3 separate regions of the Homo sapiens genome follow, and regions 2 and 3 are each linked to region 1. The links are contacts of gene promoters, found by promoter capture Hi-C in human tissues and cell types (Jung and others, 2019). All regions are on one chromosome and are shown on one strand. The core of a region is centred on a gene start or on the middle of the fragment in contact, and the rest is flanking DNA. Distances in the headings are between cores, read along the strand shown. Region 1 holds the start of DPH1 (diphthamide biosynthesis 1). Region 2 overlaps SLC43A2 (solute carrier family 43 member 2). Region 3 holds the start of SLC43A2 (solute carrier family 43 member 2).

The links. Contacts are between HindIII fragments. The study calls those that stand out against the background at their distance.
Region 2: a contact is called between a fragment that was not itself captured here and the fragment with the promoter of DPH1 in region 1, in 1 of the 25 tissues and cell types used here (dorsolateral prefrontal cortex).
Region 3: the fragment with the promoter of SLC43A2 here is called in contact with the fragment with the promoter of DPH1 in region 1 in 1 of the 25 tissues and cell types used here (bladder).

The regions. Positions count from the first base shown.
Region 1 is chr17:2,028,836-2,031,518 of GRCh38, reverse strand. DPH1 (diphthamide biosynthesis 1) reads right to left here and starts at 1,366. Exons shown (of 13, transcript NM_001383.6): 1 at 1,289-1,366. The coding sequence starts at 1,349. RefSeq lists enhancers at 435-1,026, 1,027-1,618. The HindIII fragment of the contact is 15,169 bases long and covers 1-2,683 here.
Region 2 is chr17:1,576,049-1,578,731 of GRCh38, reverse strand. It overlaps SLC43A2 (solute carrier family 43 member 2), which reads left to right. Exons shown (of 14, transcript NM_152346.3): 12 at 409-482; 13 at 2,012-2,135. Among named protein-coding and RNA genes, the nearest start is that of PITPNA, 15 kb to the right of the region's middle. RefSeq lists enhancers at 1-779, 780-1,591, 1,592-2,403, 2,404-2,683. The HindIII fragment of the contact is 6,207 bases long and covers 1-2,683 here.
Region 3 is chr17:1,627,516-1,630,198 of GRCh38, reverse strand. It overlaps SLC43A2 (solute carrier family 43 member 2), which reads left to right and starts at 1,365. Exons shown (of 14, transcript NM_152346.3): 1 at 1,365-1,405; 2 at 2,279-2,484. The coding sequence starts at 2,325. RefSeq lists enhancers at 2,117-2,654, 2,655-2,683. The HindIII fragment of the contact is 9,222 bases long and covers 1-2,683 here.

The sequences.
Region 1 (2,683 bases), core at 117-2,616:
GCAATCTCGGCTCACTGCAACCTCAGCCTCTCGGACTCAAGCAATTCTCCTGCCTCAGCCTCCCGAGTAGCTGGGATTACAGGCGTGTGCTACCACACGCGGCTAATTTTTGTATTTTTAGTAGAGACAGGGTTTCCACCATGTTGGCCAGGCTGGTCTCAAACTCCTGACCTCAGGTAATCCGCCCGCCTCAGCCTCCCAGAGTGCTGGGATTACAGGTGTAAGCCACCGTGCCCGGCCACGCACGGCTATTTTTTATTTTTTTGTGCATACAGGGTCCCCCTATGTTTCCCAGACTGGTGTGGAATTCCTGGGCTCACACAATCCTCCTTAGCCTCCCAAAGTGCTCAGACTAAAGGTGTAAGCCACTATGCCCTGCCCCGACAATTAAGCTTAGTTCAACCCCGTTATCTCTTCAGGAGCCACAGAGTCTGAGGATATGAAAAGGCAAGAAATTAACTTATTCAACGAATATGTATTGAGACTGTGCTATGTGCCACAACTTCTGCTAGGGCCCCACACTATGATAGGAGGGACCCGCCCAGACATGAGGCTTCACCCACTGTGTGGGCGGCGGTGGGGATGGTCCAGCGGAGGCTGGGGCCCTGAGATCAGATTTGAACGTTACCACTGCTATGGTTTTTGGCCAGTTGTTTCAAAAGCCTTGGACAATCAGCCTAGGCTTCCTAGGCCCATTACAGATCCTCCTCTGACAGGTCCCTAGTGGTCGCTGGCGTGTAAGGAACTGCTAACATTAGCCCTTCAATGTGTCCCAGGGACCAGTAGGCACCTCCTCCTTTATCACGTGGCTATGATATGTTTACATTAACATTCCCCCAGTAGACTGAGATCTCTGATTCTAGTACCTGCACCCAGCGCAGGCCTGGCATTCGGTGGGCGCTCAGTTAATGCCTGGCGAATGAAACCTTTTGCCTCTTCCCTGAAAGCATTCCCTGAGGGCGCACTCGTAAAATGCCCGCTGCATCTGGCCTGGCCCTTTCCCTCCCCGTCGAGTCCATTTTATCCGTCTACCCGCCAAGACAAGGCTGTAGTTTCCGATTGGAGGATTAAGGGCTGCTCTCGGTCGTGCCCTAAAGCTGCAAAAGACTGGTACCCCTGGGCTCCGGCTGACAGCGACCCCGAGCTGGTGACAGCGGCCCAAGGCGACTAACAGCGGGATCTAGCGGAGAAAGGCGCCGCCGCCGTTAAAGGGGGTTGGTCCTGTCCCTAACTTGGGGGCCCCGCCCCGAGATGCGAGGTCTGGAGGGCGCAGCGTTCCAGCACCCACCTCTGCCAGGGCCGTCTCGGCCGCCCTGCTCCGCTGCCCCGGATACGACCAGCGCCGCCATCACCTGCCTGCGCATGTGGTACTAAAAAGACAGCGCTGGAAGAACGCGGAGAGCGCAGACATTGCGATCGATCGCCGATCGGCCAGCGGGGGCGGGGGATACCCGCTGGGCGGGGCCATAAAGGAGGAGATAGGGGCGGGGCTGTAGTGGGCTCCACCCCAGCCCAGAATGCCGGGACTCAGGATTCCCTAGAGGTCCCCGACTATGCAGTTGCCCTTGCCCTGCGACTTAGTCTCCCACTCCTCTCCCCGGCCGGGCACGAGCCTGGCACTCCCGGACCGGTGCTCTCCTATGTGCGAACTCCCTGCACGAACTCTGCAGGCCGAGTCTTGTGAAGGGGACACCCACCAGATGTTCCTTGAGCCCCCCCTGCCAGTCTCCCCTCCTGGTAAGCAGTGGTCGGTCACCCGGCCGCCGTGTGGGGCCACGTTCCCTACCTAGGGGGACTCTACTGTCCGGCAGGACAGAACTCAGGGACCACCAGCCCAGCTCCAAGTTGAGAGTCTTGGTGCAGGTTTGTGGATCGCCCTTATCAGCTTTTTAAATTATTTTTTTTGAGACAGGGTCTTGGTCTGTCGCCCAGGCTGGAGTGCAGTGGTGCGATCATGGTTCACAGCAGTCTCAACCTTCTGGGCTCAATTCATCTTCCTGCCTCAGCCCCCTGAGTACCCGGGACCACAGGCGTACGTTCAGCTAATTTTTTTTTTTTTTTTTTTTTTTTTTTTTAGTAGAGATAAGGTTTCACTATTTTGCTCAGGCTGGTCTTGAACCTCTGGACTCAAGCAATCCTCCCACTTTGGCCTCCCAAAGTGCTGGGATTACAGGCGCGAGCCACTGCACCCAGCCTTTATCACCTTTAGAATCCACTGCGTAGACCCTGTAGAAACTGCCCCTCTGGGGAAGGCCCACAGCCTGAGGGTGCTTTCCTGGGAAGGTGGGCAGTGGAGGACTGTGATGTCTAACCCTTCTGGACCCTGGCCAACCTTTGCCCTGCCCCTCAGGGCTGGTCTTTCTCCTGATCACTGGCCAGAGCCCCAGAGACCCCAAAGAGAAGACAGCCAGTGAGACGGCTTTGACCTGTGGAAGAGCAAAGTACCTGCAGGACTGGCCCTCAGCAGTCTGTCCCGTGGAACAATGGTCTTCCAGGTCTGACGGTCTACCCAGCCCCCTGGCATCCTCCTCCTCTCTCTGCGGTGGTGCTGTGATCACAGCTGGCCCTTTAAGTCAGCTCTGTGTCCTCGGGCTCCCCCAGAGGCCCTCCCTGCTTGGAAACCCCTAATTAAGGTGCAGGGAGAAGTAAAAACAAGCAGCCAGAGACAGGCCCTGCCTGGGAG
Region 2 (2,683 bases), core at 90-2,589, 450 kb after region 1:
ATGGTGAAACCCCATCTCTGCTTAAAAAATACAAAAATTAGCCGGGCATGGTGGCGTGGGCCTGTAATCCTAGCTACTCCGAAGGCTGAGGCAGGAGAATTGCTTGAATCCAGGAGGCGAAGCTTGCAGTGAGCCAAGATCACGCCACTGCACTCCAGCCTGGGCGACAAAGCAAGACTTCTTCTCAAACAAAACAAAAAACAAAACAAACAAACAAACAAAAAATGACTGTGTTAACGACTGGCTTGCAAAATTTCTGAAAATTCACAATTGGCTCCGGAGGATGGGGTTGATCCAACTCCAGGCTGACACTGCCCCTGGGGTGAGGGCCCCCAGGAATTGGAGGGCGGGGGCTGAGGGGACGGTCCCTTAAGGCCTTATGCCCACAGTCGCCTTTTCCTCCCCCAGATCCTCTCCTTCATCCTGCACACAATCGTGCGAGGATTCATCCACTCCGCTGTCGGGGGCCTGTACGCTGCCGTGTAAGTCCTGGAAGCCGCAGGTGGCCTGGTGGGCGAGGGTGTGGGAATGGCCGGGGGGAGGTTGCTGGTGGGACTGAGACTCTGAGGCAGGGTCAGCCTGTCCCAGAAGGGCTCATCTTCCTGCTTCAGGGGACAGGTACCAGGGTTTCTGCTGGGTGTTTCAGGGAAAGGCCATACCTCGTGGGAAGCAGGTCAGTGGGCAGACAGTTGGGTGCTCACAAGCCTTGGCATTCAACACGAAGTCAGTTCCCCCAGCCAGGGTCAGGCACCTGTGCAGCTCATTATGGCCTCAGGGGCCACTACAGCCGAGTCCTGGGGCTGGCCCTGGCTGCTCACTGGGAAGGATGGGTAGGTTCTGGCTGCCTGAAGCTAAATGCGGAAGTTCCAGTTGCCCTCATCACGGGCAGCAACATGGGTGACTGAGTCCAGAATACACCAGACGGGCCCATCCAGAGCCTCAGTGCGCCCAGCTCTGGCCATAGCTTTCTCCAGCCCTGGCTAAAATGAAACCTGTATCTTTTTCCAAGAAGCCCCAGAAACATAAAAGGAACCACAGTGGTTCCTTCTTCTCTGGCTCAGGCCTTGACCCAAAAACTGAAACTCAAACATCATCATCCACAGTCTCTGATGTGGGACCAGCTCATGTGTTGCTGGGATTCCTTTCCCACCTCTGGGCCAGCAGAGCCTGACATGTGCTAAGATTTAGCCCGGAACTCTCTCCCAATTCCCGCAACAGCCCCTGGGGTAATCCCAGCTCCGCTTGCCCTCCGCCTGCCCCTCCCCAGGCCTGGAGGAAGCTGTGGCTGTCCTGGCAGGGTCTGAGGGAGGGGGGCGGGATCTGTGGTGCTGAGTTTCCGCGATTACTCAATGCTTCTCTGGACGAGGGCACTGCAGAGCCAAGCCCAGCCTCCACACTCCTCTCTGGGCCTGTTTCCCAAACCGCAGGTCCCCGCTGGCACCACGCTTTCCACTCGGCTCAGCCAGACACCCACAGGCCCTGGGCACAGCTGAGTGGGGTGGGCCCTCCCCAGAGTCTGGGGCCTGGAGCTGGTCCAAAGAGAAACACTTTGCAGAACCACCCAGCAGGGCCGGGCGCGGTGGCTCACGCCTGTAATCCCAGAACTTTGGGAGGCCGAGGCAGGCAGATCACAAGGTCAGGAGTTTGAGACCAGCCTGGCCAACGTAGTGAAACCCCGTCTCTACTAAAAATACAAAAAATTAGCCAGATGTGGTGGCGGGCGCCTGTAATCCCAGCTACTAGGGAGGCTGAGGCAGGAGAATTGTTTGGACTGGGGAGGCGGAGGTTGCAGTGAGCCGAGATCGTGTCATTGCACTCCAGCCCAGGCGACAGTGCAAGACTCCATCTTAAAAAAAAAAAAAAAAAAACAGAACTGCCCAGCAGGAAGGAATCCGAGGGCTGGCACCCCACCCTTCTCTGGCACCAACGGTGCAGCCCGGGGTCACCAGACACCTGGGGCCAAGCAAAGCCCAGGAGGCAGGATGGCTGTGAGCTGTCGCTTGCCCTGCAGGTACCCCTCCACCCAGTTCGGCAGCCTCACGGGACTGCAGTCTCTGATCAGCGCGCTCTTCGCCCTTCTGCAGCAGCCGCTGTTTCTGGCCATGATGGGTCCTCTCCAGGGAGACCCTCTGTGGGTAAGAGGGGTCGGGGGATGGTGGGTCATGGGCGCCTGCCCCCTTCTGCTAACTGCGAGCTGCAAGGTCCCCCTCGGGGGCTTCAGGGCCCCGAGGACATGTGGGAGCGTTGGTTAGGATTGGTTAAGAGTCCCTTTGTGAATGGTGGCTAGGCAGGAAAAGGAACATGTCCTCTCTGGACCTGATTTGGGGAGAAATAGAACAGAGTTCCTGGGCCGGGCGCGGTGGCTCACACCTGTAATCCCAGCACTTTGAGAGGCCGAGGCGGGAGCATCACTTGAGGTCAGGAGTTCAAGACCAGCCTGGCCAACATGGTGAAACCAGGTCTCTACTAAAAATACAAAAATTAGCCAGGTGTGGTGGCAGGTGCCTGTAATCCCAGATACTCGGGAGGCTGAGACAGGAGAATCACTTGAACCCGGGAGGCGGAGATTGCAGTGAGCTGAGATTGCGCCACTGCACTCCAGCCTGAATGACGACAGCGCGAGACTTCGTCTCAAAAAAAAAAAAAAAAAAAAAAAAAGAACACAGTTCCTGTCCCCGCCCCA
Region 3 (2,683 bases), core at 116-2,615, 400 kb after region 1:
GTGGCCCGGGCGGATTCTAGACAGTAGGGGGCACACTCGGACTGGGGCAGGTGGAGCAAGAGGCGTTTGGGGCTCCCACAGCCCTGGGGTGGTGGTGGGGTTTTATTTTTGGTTTTTATTTTGGTAGAGATGGTTCTCGCCATGCTGCCCAGGCTGGTCTCAAACTCCTGTCCCCAAGTGGCCCTCCGACCTTAGCCTCCCAAACCGCTGGGATTCCAGACGTGGACACCGCGCGGCAGCCCTGGGGTGCTAAGCCAGCCCCCCGGAGCGAGCCAGGGTGACCAAGGCGATTCTGGGGCAGTCAGAGGGTCTTCCCGGGTCGGGTTAGTGCCTCGAATCCGGGGGACGAAGACGGGGAGCTGAGCTTTCGGAGCCCGGGCTTATCAGACGGGGACCCGGAGCCCCCTCGAACCCTCCCTAGCTTGTACCAGCTGGCGGACGTGGCCCGTAGCATCGCCCTGCAGAGGGGACCTTCCCTGAAAGGGACGGGGAACGGGGTGAAGGTGGCCAGCGCGGGCAGGGAGCACCCAGATGACGATCAAGGGTGGAGGGTCCCCGGAGGACCGAGCAGTGCGTGAACACGGGCGGAGAAAGGTCAGTCTGATGGGGGGAGCTCAGGAGACCCCATCCTAGGACGGGACAGACCAGCCCCAAATCCCCTTGCAGATTTCCAAGGGCCAACTTCCAGGGACCGGGCAGACGCCACCGGGGAGAGGGGAAGGGGTCGGTGCATCAGCGGGGGGCGCCACGGCTGGACCGGGTCCGGGATCCCAGGCCCCGAATACGCCGGGACGGGAACCACCGGGGCGGGGGAGCGAGGAACCAGGACCCAAAGCCCGAGGCGGCGGGGACGGCGGCGCTGCGTGGGGAGGAGGCGGGGTGGGGATTCGAGAGTGGAACCACCGTGCGGAGCCGGCGCATCTGGGCGTGGTGACCCGCGCGCAGGGGGCAGCTGGGGACGGCGGGGCGGCCGCGGGAGAGCCCGGCTGGGGGCGCTGGTGGCCCGGCGGCTTCTGGGGGGAGTCCGCTGGGGGCCGGGACGCGGAGCCGGAGCCCCAGCCTCGCAGGGTCAGGCCGCTGGAGAGGCCGCGGGGCGATGTCGCCGGGGATTCCCGGCCGCGCTGTGACTCGGGTTGAAGGCTGCAAAGCCGAGGCCCGGCCCGCAGCGCCCAGGCCCCTCCCGTCCCCCATCTCTCTTGTTTGTCTCCGAGTCCGGCCGGAACCGGCTTCTGCTCGCGGCGGGGCGGGCGGGGGGCTGGCTGCTGATTGGTCGACGCCTGTTTCCAGCCCCGCTCAGCCAATCAGCGGGCGGCAGTGTTTTCTTCTTGGGGTCGGAATAAAAGGGCTGGAATAAAAGAGGGCAGAAAAGGCGCCGGGCGGGCCCGACACACGCCGGAGGAGCCGGGTGAGCTGCAGCAGGGAGGGGATCGCGGCCGGGGCGAGGGCGCGGGGGCAGAAGCGGCCGCCGAAGGGGCGTAGGGAGAAAACGTGGGAACGAGGAGAGAGATGGAGCGATGAGGGGCCGCCAGGGAAGAGATGACGAACAGATGCGGGCTGGGGAATGGAGGCGCGGGGGTCCGAGGCCATGGAAACGGGCGAGTTGCCGGGGGAACGCCCGAGATGGGGGTCGCGCGGCTGGCTCGCGCCACCGGTTTGAACCGGCTCCTCGTCTCCCACGCTGGGTTCGCGTGGCCGCAGCGCCTAGCGACCTAGACGGCGGCCAATGGCGCGGCAGTTCCTGCGCCGTCCGGCCAATGAGCGCGCCGGGGCGGGCCGTTCCGTAGGTCTGGGCGCTGATCTTGTGGTTGAAGAAACCAGCTCTGGGGAAGGGTCTCGGGCGCGGGCGGGAGGGCACCTGTCAGGGTCCCTGGGAGAGGCAGCCCTCGGATCTGCCCCTGCCCACCTCACGCTGCGTTCCATGCTGGCCCCAGGCGATGTCAGTCCTGCTGCAGGCCAGGACTAGTTCCACGGCCCTGAGCATGCGTTAGCCCCTTCTTGCCTCCATGCCTCAGTTTACCTCGGAGTGAGCTGCGGGAGACGTCTCCCTGCCTGGCCGGGGCGGCTCTGTCGTAGCGGAGGGCAGCGGTACGAGCCGGCCGCGGGCTCGGGGTGTCCCAGGTCCGGGCAGGGCTGGGGTTCGCTTCCTCTGCTGCGCGCACCGGCCGCCGCGGCCGGGGAGGGGTGGCAATCCCGAGCCCTGCGGCAGCGGTCGGGGCTGCTGGGGGCGGCCGCAGGGGCTGGGCAAGGGCCGGCCGCTGACGCCGAGTTCTGTGCGCAGGTGGTGCAGAGCCGGAGCCGGAGCCGGAGCCGCGCCGCGCCGCACCATGGCGCCCACCCTGGCCACTGCCCATCGGCGCCGCTGGTGGATGGCCTGCACGGCCGTGCTGGAGAACCTCCTCTTCTCGGCAGTCCTCCTGGGCTGGGGCTCGCTGCTCATCATGCTCAAGTCAGAGGGCTTTTACTCCTACCTGTGTACCGAGCCAGGTGAGACAAGCGCCTGGGGTTGCGGGGGGCTCCTGGAGCTGGGGCTTTGGGAGGGGGCGGGATGGGGGCGAAGACCTAGCGAGCCACAGCACCGCATTGCCCAGTGCCTCTAGGGTATCAGAAGGCCCATCTGATCCTCACCCAGCCCTGCCGGGTACTTGTCATTGCCCCTGTTTTGTGGACGAAGACATCGAGGCTC